Linked DNA regions of Homo sapiens: all the other regions are linked to region 3. The links are contacts of gene promoters, found by promoter capture Hi-C in blood cells and fetal thymus (Javierre and others, 2016). All regions are on one chromosome and are shown on one strand. The core of a region is centred on a gene start or on the middle of the fragment in contact, and the rest is flanking DNA. Distances in the headings are between cores, read along the strand shown. Region 1 overlaps PTK2B (protein tyrosine kinase 2 beta). Region 2 has its middle 2.6 kb from the start of BNIP3L. Region 3 holds the start of LONRF1 (LON peptidase N-terminal domain and ring finger 1).

The links. The method cuts DNA at HindIII sites, captures the fragments that hold promoters and counts their contacts. A CHiCAGO score of 5 or more calls a contact.
Region 1: a contact is called between a fragment that was not itself captured here and the fragment with the promoter of LONRF1 in region 3, in 1 of 17 cell types (total B cells). The highest score is 10.4, in total B cells.
Region 2: a fragment that was not itself captured here is called in contact with the fragment with the promoter of LONRF1 in region 3 in 2 of 17 cell types (naive CD8 T cells and total B cells); the score reaches 9.6 in naive CD8 T cells.

Annotation. Positions count from the first base shown.
Region 1 is chr8:27,357,232-27,359,950 of GRCh38, forward strand. All of the region lies in intron 1 of PTK2B (protein tyrosine kinase 2 beta), which reads left to right. Among named protein-coding and RNA genes, the nearest start is that of PTK2B, 33 kb to the left of the region's middle. The HindIII fragment of the contact is 264 bases long and covers 1,146-1,409 here.
Region 2 is chr8:26,379,009-26,381,888 of GRCh38, forward strand. It overlaps the pseudogene SDAD1P1. Among named protein-coding and RNA genes, the nearest start is that of BNIP3L, 2.6 kb to the right of the region's middle. RefSeq lists an enhancer at 2,523-2,880. The HindIII fragment of the contact is 838 bases long and covers 1,203-2,040 here.
Region 3 is chr8:12,754,252-12,756,951 of GRCh38, forward strand. It overlaps LONRF1 (LON peptidase N-terminal domain and ring finger 1), which reads right to left and starts at 1,275. Exons shown (of 12, transcript NM_152271.5): 1 at 449-1,275. The coding sequence starts at 1,169. RefSeq lists silencers at 1-3, 54-593, 490-680, 684-1,023, 1,104-1,773 and an enhancer at 749-1,568. The HindIII fragment of the contact is 11,195 bases long and covers 1-2,700 here.

The DNA of each region.
Region 1 (2,719 bases), core at 28-2,527, about 15 Mb after region 3:
TGTGAGTCTATAATTCTTTCAAAATAAAAAGTACAAAAAATACTGACAAATTAAAATTCCTCTGACACTTCTTCTGTCTCCAAGAATTTTCTCACCACTTGTATGGTTCCAGAGCCACTTCAGTTGGTGTTTAAATATTAATCCCTCATGGTCCTCACATCATTTCCAGGGGTCTTCTCATGATCTTGTAGGATAGGGAGGTAACCAGCAACTGACAGCAGAAGAGAATGGGAAATTCATTTTCTTGCAAATCTCCAGTGCAGGGGGCCACCCCGTGCCTGCCATCTCCCTTAACCGCTATCAGGAGCATCATTTCCCAACCACCAGCTTTGAAGGAAATTGGGTCTCTTGTTGTGAAACTGGGCTTTCTTCTCTCTCCTTTGTCAACTCTGAATGAGAGAGGGGAAATGGGTCAGGTTAGAGAGAGGAGATGCCTTTTTTGAAGAGGAGATCTGAGTGAGATAAAGATATAGATAGCCAAGAGTAAGTGAGATAACAGAGTAGGTGCTCTGGCATAATAGAAAATGCACAGGCTTGGAATTACAGCTGCATTCATTCATTCATCTGATATTTATCAAGTGCCTAATCTGTGCCAGGCATAGTTTTACATGCTAGGGATATGGAGTGAAAATATGGTCCCTAGCCTCATGGAGATTATGTCAGATGACTGCAATTTAGACTCTATAGCTCCCCAGTCATGTGACCTCTGAAAAGTCACTTAATATCTTTGAAGCTCGGTTTCTACTCTGTAAATTGGGGTTACTAGTAGTAATTGGGGTAACCAAGCCAACCTCATTGGATTTCTATGGGGTTGCATAAGAAGGTTTACTTAGTTCTTAGCACAATGTCTTAAACATAGTAGACGTTCCCTTTTTCTCATTAGTTCTCTTCATCCTCACTCTTTGCTCCCCTCCTTGGTAGATTGGTTAGAACCATCTAAATTCCCCCAGGGCAGCACAGGGCTGTGGATATAGCTCTGCACTGTAGGTTCAGCTGAGTTAAGCCATCCTCAGTTGAGTTGACTGCTACACAGTTTTGTAGCACTCAGGCCAAATGAAACCATGAAGAAGAAAAGAAGCAATACTTTTTGCATTTCTGTCCATTTTTGCTTTATATTTTTAATTGTCTGTGTTTTGGTGCATATAAGCTTATGATTGTAACTTCTTGGCAAATTTTTCCTTTTTAACATGATTCCTCATAATCATATTTTTAATGTTTTTCTTCAAATCTTATTTGCTATTTTATATATCAATATCAACTTTCACTTAGTAACTGGTTTATATTTTTCTGTCTCTTTATTTTTAACTTTTGATGTCTTAATGTTTTTAGGTTTGCTTCTTGTAAACTACAGATAGCTGGATTTTTAAAAAATTAAGTCTAAGTGTCTTTGTCTTTTAACAGGCAATTTAAGCTTCTTTATTTATTAAGACTTCTAATATATTTAGTATATGTATACTACATTATTTTGTTTGCCATGCTTCATCTTTGCCTTTTCTCACCTCTTGCCTTTCACTGTATTGATTATGTGTTTATTATTTTCTCCTCTTGTAGCCTATTGGTTTAGAAGTTATATATTAGGTTTCTATTATTTTAATGGAAAAATAGGTTAAAAATAAAACCTAATAATAGGTTTCTATTATTTTAATTTTTTAACACATACTTGAATTTAAGGTCTAACATTAATCAATATCATTATCCTCCTTACCAAATTGGAAGGATTTTATGGCACTTTGACTCTAATCTTTCTCTTCTCATGTCCCAAACTGTTGTCCACTGGTATTATAGTATTATCTTCTTTTCAACATCTCCCCTCCCCATTTTAGCCATTAGGATTATTATCTTGGACTTTGCATACCTTCTTTTTTTTCTATTTAGATATTGCAAATATATATATTTTTGAAACATACATAGTCTTGCTCTGTCACCCAGGCTGGAGTGCAGTGGCGCGATCTCAGCTCACTGAAACCTCCACCTCCCAGGTTCAAGTAATTCTCCTGCCACAGCCTCCCGAGTAGCTGGACTACAGGCATGCACCACAATGCCTGGTTAATTTTTTGTATTTTTAGTAGAGAAGGGGTTTCACCATATTGGCCAGGCTGGTCTCAAACTCCTGACCTCAAGCGATCTGCCTGCCTCAGCCTCCCAAAGTGCTGGGATTACAGGCGTGAGCCACTGCACCTGGCCTTGCAAATATACTTTTTATTGTCTTAAGTTATTCCATTTACTTCAGTTCTTGATTTTCTAATCTATAACGTGCATCTGCTGCCCCTTTCTCAAGGTGGGTTGCTTGGTTGTATGGATCGTCACTGTGAATTGGGGCAGGAGGAGCAGGGTATTTATGTGTTTTTGCTTATGGAAATGCACTCCAGAGTTCTGCTTTTTCCTCTGCTTGAATCACTTGTCACCATCTCTGGATTTGTTTTTATTTTAATTACTTGGATTAGAATTCCCACTGCATGTAAGTAGAATGACACAGGTTTTGGGTTTTACCTTCTCTCTTTCTTTCTCTCTCCCTATCTTTCTTTCTTTCTTTCCTGGGACCCAGACAGAGGTCAAGCTTCTTCATGCCCAGGGCTGGTGAACAGTGTTTCTAGTGCCCACCTTGTAGTCAGGATGGTATTTGTTGAGTTAATCCCTGCCTCACAAGGGTCTGGAGCCTGAAGACATCACCCTGCACAAACGTTAAACCCCCGGCCCCAGCTCCTGGGCCAACATCCTC
Region 2 (2,880 bases), core at 372-2,871, about 14 Mb after region 3:
CCTCTACTAGAGAACTATTTACACTGCACTGTAAATACACGTCTGTGTCCACCCCCACAACTAAGCTGTCAATGCCTTGAGTGAAGGGGTAGTTACAACTCAGTCATTTTGTATCTACAGTGACAATTAATAGGCACTCAATACTTTTTTTTGCATGAATGATAAATGATATTACACTACCACCACTATTTACATTAACATTTCCCATCATTAGCTGTCCCCAAAATAAAAACACCAAATTGCTGCCACATTTTCAGCAGTTTTCATAATATAGTGCTTCTGGACTTTTTAATGTAAACAAACATGCTTGATTTACCAATTTTCAGAGTAATGACACAAACTTAGCATTCTTCTTGGAATGGAAAACTTTCTGGGAAGTTACTTCATTCTTTTTCTCTTTTCAAAAGGCATCTCGCAGCGCCAACTGTTTTTCTCAGAAGGAACGCTTATTTTCTGACCAGACATTCTGGCTATACCACATCATCATAAAGTTCTTCTGTTTTTTCTTCTCTTTACTTTTTGAACTGGAAAATGGATTCACTTTGGTTTTCTTCCTCACAAATTCTTTTCGGTCTGTCTTTCCAGCCATTGCAGTTGCTAGTCTTGTCTCTTTGTCAGATTTTGGCTTTTTATGAAGGCGTTCAATGTCCGGAAGAGAAAGTAATTCACCCCTCGGCTCTTCATCACTGTCGATTTCAATATATTTCCTCTTCTGGGATTTCCCGGGGACAGCGTCAAGTTCTTTTCTCATTTGCGCCATGCGGATTTTCTGGAAGTCTTCCTAACTTAAAACTCGACTGGTGCTGACGGCTGCAGTTTTGGCTTTCTGCTCCTCCATGGGCATGGTGTTCAGCTTCTTGGAAATTTCTTGCTGTTCTTCATTGGAAGAGTGTTGCACATCAACCCATTCGCCATCGGCATCCTCCTCCTCACTGAGACTGGTACTTTCCCATCCATCTTCATCATTTTCAGCACTCTCCTCTTTCTCAACTTCCAGAACTTCTGCTCCTGGAATGTAACCTTTAGCATCTAATTCTCCATATTCTTGTACTCTTGCTTCTATGGAGGCTTCTGTAGGCTTACCCCAGAATTTCTTCTGCAGCATCTGAGGATTCAGTGTTCGGAAGAGCCGAATCAAAGTTCTAGCAGACATCATTACATTATTATCCTTGTGTGTTTTATACTGAGCCAGGTCTTGGAGAAGCTTTTCAGTCATGGCCAGAGGACACTGAGCTGTTGTCTCTTTTACAGCATTGATTCCTATTGTCATGGCTTCTCCAGAGTTCTTGTCGTTAACAAAATTGTTGGCCACAGTCATAAGCAATGATTGAATAATCGCTGGGTGTACTAGGTGATGAGATGCTTGTGCAGCAAACAGAAGGTTCTTTGTTACTTCTCTTTGGTGGGGCTGCAGAAACCTTCGCAAAAAGTGATAGAAATTGAAGAGGAAGAGCTTATGAATTCCCACCAATCTGAGATGAGGTTCATGAGCATCATCTTCACTTCCAACCTCTCCTTACAGCACTCAAGCTGCTTTAGTAGTTTTTCTGCAAAATCTTGGGGATCATGAATCAAGTGAACGGCTAAAAAGTTAAACACCTCTGGTTTTTTCTTCTTCTTTTGTTTCTTGAGCACTTTCATTGCCTTTTCCAACTTTTTCTTGTTTTGGGAACTTTGTTCCCTGTAGCATACTGTGCTAGCAGGTCTCTTGCTGTTGGTCCGTCATCCTCAGATTCGGAGTCACTGGCCTGTTTTTCATCTTCATCTTTTCCAAGAAAGAATGTCAAAGCAGCAACTAATATCTTGGTGACCTAAGAGAAACATGCAGTTGTGATAACATTGACAGTTTTGGTATCATTCCAGATGTTCCTTCTGTAGAGTTCAATCATAACATCTAAAGACATCTTGGCTGCAGTTGCATTGCTATCTCTCAACATGGTATACATGAAATTTTACAATACTACATCCACTTTATTCTTGTGTTTTGCATTTATATTCTTGATATCAGTCACGATATATGTGTATGAAGTCTTTTGCAGAAGCTTATCATGGCAACAGAGAAGTTCAAAGAAGAGTTCTAGCAGGCTTGATGGATTGATGAGATTCTTATTTCTCAGCAAGATCAAAGCTTTGCAAAATGTCATTCGAAGATCTGGATCCAATACAGTATGATTACAGGACAGAAGATCTTTCACCACTTGAGGAAAATTACTTAGATACCCTGGGTAGCAGTAACTAATCTATAACAAAGCAAAGGCTCTTCTGAAGTTTCTCTCTTTCTCTCCTATTATTCAGATGCACATATTTAGGACGTTCTGTGCCATAAACACCACCAGCTCTGCTAGTTCTTTACCGGGTTTATATGGTTGCAATTTGAAAATCTCCACATTGGATGTGTAGTGATTATACTGCTGTAGAAACTCCTAGATGGAGGGTGGTGGGTCTCGCTTCATCAGATTCTGTAACTGCAGTCAGGTTGCTGGGCAGCTTGTTGTTGTTTCTGCTGGACATTCTGGCTGAAGACTGGCTTCGCGGCGAGCAGTTTTAATAAAACTCAGATGGCCAGCAGCCGCCAATCCCTACCAGCTGCGGCTTGAACTCCTGCTTCCGGGTATGACCGGAAACAGCACTCAATCTATTAATAGAGTTCATTTCTGACCAAAATCTTAAAAGAATTTGCAAAGGGATTTGACAAATCAATCCTTAAAAAAAACCTTTTAGCATGGACTTTTTCAAATATATTAAAAAATTAGAGGAATACTTTAATGTATTACATAGCTTCAATAATTACCAACACAAGGTCAATCTTGGACAAGTCCATTTTTAAGTTCATCTGAAGAGTAACTAGCCATTAACATCTGAAAAAGACAAAGGAAGAGA
Region 3 (2,700 bases), core at 25-2,524:
TTCTCTCCCCGCCCCGGCAGTCGTTTCCCCGCGGCGGGCCCGGCCCGAGAGCCAATTCCCGGAAAGCGCGCGGCAGGAAGCGAGCGGCCGCTCGGGATAGCCCAGCTACCACCCATCCCGCGCCGGGGCGGCCTCGGTCCAGGTCACCCACTCCGCGCCGGGAGCGCGCGCCCGACAGCCAGGCCGCGGCCGAGGGAACCCCGCGCCGAGCGCCCCTCCCCGCGCCGCGTCACAGTCGGCTCCCAGGGCGATCCCCATTATGACCGAAGCACCCCGGGGCGCCGCCCCCTCCCACACCCCCCAGCACCCCGAGACCCGACACGCCAGCGGCCCAGCGGCCCCGGGGAAGCAGAGGAGACTCTCGGGGCGCAGACAAGCTCCGGGTCCCCGGCCCTCGGGGCCAGGAGGGTGCGGTCGGCCCGGCCCCGCCGCATCCCCGCGCGGTCACCTGCTCGCAGCGCCTCGCAGGCGGCGGCCAGGGCCTCCCGGTAGCGCCCCTGGTGCAGTAGCTCCCCGAGCCTGCCGGCCGCCCGGGCCCGCTCGCGCTGGCCCGGAAACCACTTCTCGGCCAGGTGGTTGAGGACGACGCTGGTTCTGAAGTCTGAAGCGGCGATGGCGGCGGCCAGAGGCGGCGGCCGCGGGGCGGTCCCTTCAGCATCAGTGGCACTGGCGGTGGCGGGCGGCAGCCGGTCCCGGCAGAGGCGGCAGCGGGCGCGGAGTTCCCTCCGCAGGCAGCGGCGGCAGTAGCTGTGGCCACAGGGCACGGTCACCGGCTCGCTCAGGAAGCCCCGGCAGCCCAGGCATCTGAGGAGCCCGCCGGCGCCGCCGTCAGCGCCTGCAACCGGGGCCGCGCTCCAGCCCAGCCCGTGGCGGAGCCGGTAGTTGAACACCAGGCAGTCCACCAGGGCGCCCAGGCACTCGGGCCTGGCCGGGGCCCCGCGGCGCAGCGCCGCCGCGAACGCCTCCAGCGCGCCCTTCAGGTGGCCGCCCAGCGCCAGCAGCTCCCCGCGGCGGAGCAGCAGCTCCCAGCGCTCCGACTCCGCGGCCGCGCGCTCCAGCCGATGGCCGCTGCCGCCGCCCACTTCCCAGAACCGGCCTCGGCCCTGCGGCGCTGGGGCCATCTCCCGACTCCCTCCTGGGGAGGTCCTCGCCACCGCCGGAGAGGACATGGCCCGCGGAGGGCTGCGCCGCCGCCGCCCGCCGCCACGGTCCCGGAGCCTCCCGGGCGCGCGGCTCCGCACGCGGCCCGCGAGCAGGGGGGCGTGGCGCGCGGACACGGCGGGGCTGCGCGCGCCCGGGAAGCCCCGAGGGCGGGGCCTGGCGAGGGCGGGGCCGGGCTCGGCGACGGCGCCCGGGACTCCCCCACGCCGCCCGCGGCCGCGCTCCCGAGGAGCCAAGCGCTGGGCCCCGCCCCTTCCGAGCCCCCTCCGGGTGGGGGACGCAGGTCGGATGATTCCTCCGTCGGAGATCTAATTGGCTTCTCCGGAAAGGAGGGCTCGGCTCGTGACGGAACAAAGCCGGAAGGACCCCGGAGCTTCAGTCCCCGCTTGCCTGTCTGCCAACGCCGCCACCTGCGGTGGCCCTCGCCCCTGCCGGGGGTTGGGGGACGCTCCCCTGCCGCGCGGGACTCCGGGTCACCACCCCTCCCCCGACGCCCCCGCCCAGGCCGGACCTGCCCCAACTCCTGGCGGGCGGGGGTCTCCCCGCGTGGCCTCGCGCTTGTGCGGGTCTGCATTTTCATAGCTCTACGCCCATGTTCCAGGTGGGCGCGCCCAAGCAGGGGGCCTGGGAGCGCACCTTCGGCAGATGACTGGGACTCTTCGGTTCTAGAGGACTCAACTTTAAATATGAACAAAAAACCCACGTTCCTGGGGCGACTCCCTCCAGAGGGCAAGGAGTTTTTCCTGGTGCCAGGTGACTGCTTGCCCGTCTTGCTTAAAACTCATCGTGGGCCCACCTCGAGGGAGAAAGCCCACAGCTTCCTCAGGTGTCTCCACACCTCAAGCACTGCCTTACAGCTGGTTAAGGTCTATATTTGGCAGTTTTAAAAGAAAACACCAAGAAACATGTTTCACATGGCGGTCACCGTATTACTACAACCCAAGCTGGCTCTGCAGTTTTGCTGACAGAAGAAAATGATCGGGTTGATATATAATGGGTGCTATTTCCCTTAAACTTCACAGCAGCAAGTTTAAAGCTCTCAGCTGAAAATACAGATTTGATGATAGGGTATTAGATCGCTAATGTTGGAAGTCACTTAGGACTTTTAGTCCTTTTTCAAATGATTGGAAACACAGGGAAAGTTATTTGTCAAAAATCACACAGCTAATACAGATTTTAAGATCACGTCTATTCCACTACTACTACGTTAGACTAATATGTAATATTTAATAAAATATGTAATATTTCATAGAAATATATGAGATTTTCAAAGTAAAAGAAGTTGCTAATTGGAAAGTTCACCTGAGCATGCTATGTATGAAATTGGTAAACGTTTAATATTTCTCTTTATAAGGAACAGGCAATTAAGGCTAAAAAATGTTTTGAGTTCATGTGTTTTCACTACACAATCAACAAGTCGTGTAACGTCAGAAAAGACAGAGTTATATTACCCTAAAGGGAATGAATAAAAAAGAGGTGCCTGAGAAAAAGCCAAGCCTCCTGTTCCAACAGGATGCAGACAGAAACAAGTTCATTTAT